Regions from separate parts of the Homo sapiens genome. Here region 1 is linked to region 2. Evidence: promoter capture Hi-C in human tissues and cell types (Jung and others, 2019). All regions are on one chromosome and are shown on one strand. The core of a region is centred on a gene start or on the middle of the fragment in contact, and the rest is flanking DNA. Distances in the headings are between cores, read along the strand shown. Region 1 has its middle 48 kb from the start of DEFB136. Region 2 holds the start of NEIL2 (nei like DNA glycosylase 2).

What was found. The method cuts DNA at HindIII sites, captures the fragments that hold promoters and counts their contacts. A contact is called where the count stands out against the background at its distance.
Region 1: a contact is called between a fragment that was not itself captured here and the fragment with the promoter of NEIL2 in region 2, in 5 of the 25 tissues and cell types used here (H1 embryonic stem cells, aorta, lymphoblastoid cells and 2 more).

What each region holds. Positions count from the first base shown.
Region 1 is chr8:11,925,082-11,927,781 of GRCh38, forward strand. No RefSeq gene overlaps it. Among named protein-coding and RNA genes, the nearest start is that of DEFB136, 48 kb to the right of the region's middle. The HindIII fragment of the contact is 7,723 bases long and covers 1-2,700 here.
Region 2 is chr8:11,768,302-11,771,001 of GRCh38, forward strand. NEIL2 (nei like DNA glycosylase 2) reads left to right here and starts at 1,409. Exons shown (of 5, transcript NM_145043.4): 1 at 1,409-2,034. LOC124901888 (a long non-coding RNA gene) reads right to left here. Exons shown (of 2, transcript XR_007060824.1): 1 at 2,577-2,700; 2 at 501-2,107. RefSeq lists silencers at 1,220-1,629, 1,670-1,799 and an enhancer at 1,559-2,059. The HindIII fragment of the contact is 20,018 bases long and covers 1-2,700 here.

The sequences.
Region 1 (2,700 bases), core at 134-2,633, 160 kb after region 2:
AGGCAGAATAGTCTTCCATTGTATGAAGGAACTGCAGTGTGCTTTTTCATTCAACTGTCCACAAACCCTTGGGTTGCTTCCACATTTTGGCTCTTGTGAATAATGCTGCTATGAATTTGGGTGTACAAATCTCTCTTCCACTCCTGGCTTCTAATTCTTTTGGCAGGTGCCCACAAGTGCAACAGCGGGAACATCTGATAATCCTGTTTCTACTTTTTCCAGTATACACCATACTATTTTCCCTGTTCCTTCATGGTTTTACATTCCCTCCAATCAGATTCGAGCATTCCTACTTCCCTCTCGTCTCACCAATGCTTGTTTGTTTATCATATCCATCCTAATGTGTGGTATCACATTCTTGGTTTGATTTGCACTTCCCTATGATGAGTGATTTTGAATATCATTTTAGATGCTTACTGGCTATTGCTATATCTTCTTAACGACGTGTCTACTCGAGTCTTCTGACCATTGTTAATGGGATGCTTTGAGTTTCTTGTTGTTCAGTTCTAGCTGTTCTTTGTATATGACGCATATCAGCCTCTTTTCAGAGATATGATTTGCAAATATTTTTCCTAATCCATGGGTTATCTTTTCACAGTTCACAGTGTTTGCTGATGCACAAAAGTGTCTGTCATTTAGATGTAATCCAAGGAATCTAATTTTCTTTTGTTGCCTATGCTTTTGGTGTCATATCCCAGACAGCATTGCCCAATCTGATGTCATGAAAGCGTGGCCAATGTTTTCTTTTAGGCATATTATACTTTCAGCACTTGGGGTTAGGGCTTTGACCCAGTTTGTGTTAATTTTTGCACCTGGTGTGACATAGGGTCCACCTTCATTCTTCTGCATGTGGAAATCAAGTTTCTCCAACACCATTTCTTGAAAAGGCTGCTTTTCCACCAATGAGTTTTCTTAGCACTCATGTTAAAAATCATTTGAACATATAGGTGAGAACTTATTTCTGGGCTCCAGAACAAACAAACAACAACAGACACCAGATAAGGATACAGCATGGGCCGAGCACAGTTGCTCACACCTGTAATCCAAGCACTTTGGGAGGCCGAGGCGGGTGGATCACCTGAGGTCAGGAGTTCAAAACCAGCCTGACAGACAGGAAGAAACCCCCGTCTCTACTACAAATACAACATTAGCTGAGCGTGCTGGGGCATGCCTGTAACCCCAGCTGCTCAGGAGATGGAGGCAGGAGAATCGCTTGAACCCAGGAGGCAGAGGTTGTGGTGAGCCAAGATTGCACCATTACACTCCAGCCTGGGCAACAAAAGTGAAACTCTGTCTCAAAACAAAAAACCAAAAACAGAAAATCCAGCACGATATCGAGAGCAGAAAGAGAATAGCTGAAAAACCAGCATAATGAGAAAATGAGGAAGCTTCTTACCAAAGCATCTGGAAATATGCAAGCAATTCTTGTGAACTAAAATTTTCATACTGTACTATCAAACACTAGAACTCACTTATTCCATCTTTCTGTATTTTGGGACCCAATTATCCACTTGTCTTCATTCCCCATCCCACCCCTTTTCTTCCTAGCATCTGCTAACCCCCTTTATACTCTCCACCTTCCTGAGATTCCTTTTGTGTGTAGGTGTGTGATGGAGTCTCTTTCTGTTGCCCAGGTTGGAGTACACAGGCACAATCCGGGCTCACTGCAAGCTCCGCCTCCCGAGTTCAAGCGCTTCTTGGGCCCCAGCCCTCCGAGTAGCTGAGACTACAGGCATGCGTCACCACGCCTGGCTAATTGTTTGTGTTTTCAGTAGAGACAGGGTTTCACCATGTTGGCCAGGTGGGTCTCGAACTCCTGGCCTCAAGTGATCCGTACGACTCGGCCTCCCAGAGTGCTGGGATTACAGGCCTGAGCCACCACACTTGGCCAAGATTTTCTTTTTTGATCCTACATAGAAGTGAGGACATGAAATAGTTGTCATTCTGTGCCTGGCTTATTTCACTTCATATACAGACCTGCAATCTCATCCATTTTGTCTGCAGTGGAGAGAATTTTATTTATTCCTTTTTAGCCTGAATAATACTTCATTGTGTGTGTATACCACAGTTTCTCAATTGAAACAAATTTCTAAAAAGCAAATATTTTTAACTTGTCTCGGAATGTGAAACTTCAGGGATACTGTGCCCATTTTATTCTTTTCTATTTCCCATCTTATGTATATGCAAGTGTATAACAAAGCAGCAATCAATGTGTGTATAAATCTATAATTTCAACAAATGTAAAATGAAAATGCTAAGTGGTGGCTGGGTGCGGTCCCTCCCGCCTGTAATCCCAGAACACTGGGAGGTGGAAGCGGGCGGATCACTTGAGGTAGGGACTTCAAGACAAGCCTAACCAATATGGAGAACCACTGTCTGTACTAAAAATACCAAAAAATAAATAAATAAATAAATAAAAAATAAAATTAGCCAGGCATGGTAGCGCATGCCTGTAATCCCAGCTACTTGGAAGGCTGAGACAGGAGAATTACTTGAATACGGGAGGCAGAGATTGCAGTGAGCCGAGATCGTGCCATTGCACTCCAGCCTGGGCAACAAGAGTGAAACTCTGCCTCAAAAAGAAAAAAAAAAAAAAGAAAGAAAAAAAATAGAAAATGCTAAATGGTAAGAAACAACAGCATAATAAACATTGGTACGGTGTTGATGGACAATGCATTGGAAGATAATATTTGAAGAAAT
Region 2 (2,700 bases), core at 159-2,658:
CCATTGTGGTGAGCCTGATCCTATAGCAGGGGCATCCTGGGGGTGGGGGGGTCGTTATTCTCCAGAAAAGGCCGGACATAGAAAGAGGGGGACCAGAGGCTCTTCAAGGGATGCCTCCTGCAAACCCCATGCCCTCCAACCTCATCCCCTCTGCCTCCAGATGCCTTTCTAGATGAGGACCCTATACCCTAGGCCTCCCCAGGCCTCCCTCTCCTCACCTCCTGCCCTAGCCTGTTCAGTAGGTGACCACTGTGGGAAGGCCACTTGTAACCTCCCTCTCAATCAGTAGGACACAACCATGTCTCTGACGGTGGGCTGGGCTTGTTTCCCTGTGCTGACCAAGTCCTTCCCCAGGGACCCCTCAGCTAGGGTCCATGGTGACTTCACCCCAGCCTATTTCCTGAACACCTGCTGGGGAGTTCCCCAGACTTTCCTCCCAACTTCCTGGAAAGTGCTGGCTCCCCATCCTCCTTCGAGAACTAAAGACAAGAAAACATATGTATCTTTAAACAGCCTATTGTTTTATCTCTTTTATTCTATGAAATAAAAAATTTAATACACAAATACTTTAAGCAAAATTTGCTTATAGTAAAAATTCAAGTAATAAAATTCAAATAATAGAAAGCAAAAAAATCCCACCCGTTCAACATTTCACGAGTCTTGAACACCTGTTTCCTTTGCACCCGACTTCATTAGGCTCGGAGGCCAAGCAGAACCCACAGAAAGGCTTGCCATTGTGGGAACACCCAGGCTGTCCCATTCACACACCCATTGACTTTTCCCTATAACTGTCTCCTTGAGACAAGAAATGTTCCAAAAGGGCCGGGTGCGGTGGCTCACGCCTGTAATCCCACCACTTTGGGAGGCCGAGGAGGGCGGCTCACCTGAGATCAGGAGTTCAAGACCAGCCTGGCCAACATGGTGAAACCCGGTCTCTACTAAAAATACAAAAATTAGCCGGGCGCCAGTAATCCCAGCTACTCGGGAGGCTGAGGCAGGAGAATGGCTTAAGCCCAGGAGGCGGAGGTTGCAGTGAGCCGAGATCGCGCCACTGCACTCCAGCCTGGGTGACACAGCGAGACTATCTCCCCCCGCAAAAAAAAAAAGTTTCCAAGAGCGTCTCTCCAATGTTAGTCCCAGCCTGCACCCTTCTTCCATCCCTGCTTTCACTCGCGACCCTCTAATGCAGCCCTGCCTCCAGCGACCCCCGGGATGGAACCCCTCGCCCACCCACAAAAGAGCAGCCTCGACCTAGACCCACTTTCCAGGGAATGAGCCCTGCGCCTGCGCGCACCCCGCCACCCCCTCCAGGCCGGAGTCCACGCCCACTTGGGGGAGGAGCCCCGCAGCCTCCACCTACAGGGGCGTCCCCTAAGGGGACGGAGGCCGCATGGGCCGCCGAGCCGGGAAATCTCCGCCCCCAGCTGGAGCGGCTGTGCGGGCTGCGTAGCGGTGCTGGGTCGGGCCGACGTGCCACCCACCCGGAGCCGGTGAGTGCAGCCGCCCGCCCTCCGGTAGATCTGCGGCCTGGCGGAGAAGTCGGGAGGGGACAGGAAGGGAGGGCGGGCCCCGGGCCCTCCTCCGTCTCAGCCGCCTGCGGAGGTGCTGCCCACGCCTGGAGGCCCCCACTGACCCTCAGACCCGCGTCTGCGCCCCTCTCCCCGCACCCCGAGGCAGAGTTGGGAAAGCAGTGGTCTTAGACCCCCCACCTCGGGCACTCGGAAGAGAACGGCGGAGACAACCCCTCCTCTTCCCTGGCTGGCGCAGCGCCAGCCTCGAGCTCCTCGGTAGCCCCCGGGCAGGGAGGGCCGGAGGGTGGGCGCGGCATCTTCAGCGACTCTTCGAAGTCCCTTCCGCGTCTCATCTTTCAAGGCTGTTGCAGAGGCGGCTTGCTTCCCACCTGTCCATCTCCATAAAAATCCCTAAACGAAACATGCCCACGTGTCCGGAGATTTTCAGGACTTGGTGCATTTCAGATGAAGGCTTTTCCAGAAGCTTCCCCGTAGAAGAGGATCAGGCATCCAACTGGTTAAGGTCAGCAGCGTTTGGCACGTCTCCTTCCAGCCTGGCGGTTTTGTCAGGATTCCCTGGGGAGTGTCTGGAAAGCCTGATGAGGGGAAATAGTACATCTCAGCGAATCGGCACCAGCGAGTGTAAGATGCGCGTTATTGAATGTGCTGCTGCCGAATATGAGAATGCCGAGATTGTGAGCCGTCACCATTTCTTAGATTTTAAAAGTATTCTAAAATGTTTTTTAGAATCACTGAAATATAATAGCTACCCCCTGCCCGATATCTACTTAGTTCTTTTCGATTTTCATCATAACTTATAGAGAGGCTGGTGCAGGAACAGGTGGTTAGGCAGCTGCCCCGGGTGAGGCTGGGAGTCTCCTCTGCCCGAACAGCCCGGGTGTACACCACTCAGACTGCCTCATGTAGGCGGCTGTCAGTGGACTGGGATGATTTGGGGGCAGGGAGAGTAGAGGTGGCCCTGGGAGCCCTGCGTGGTGATTAGAACAGAACCACAGCTGTTTCTCGGGGATCAGAGATAACTGTCTGTAGCTATGCCGGGCTTACCTACGTGGCTGGGGGTCTCACTTATGATTCTGAGCTCTGTCTGCGTGTTGGTCGTTTCATGCACACCTCCCCCACGCTAGTGGTCGGCGGTCCTGGAGGGCGGCATCTGGTCCCTTCAAAAGTG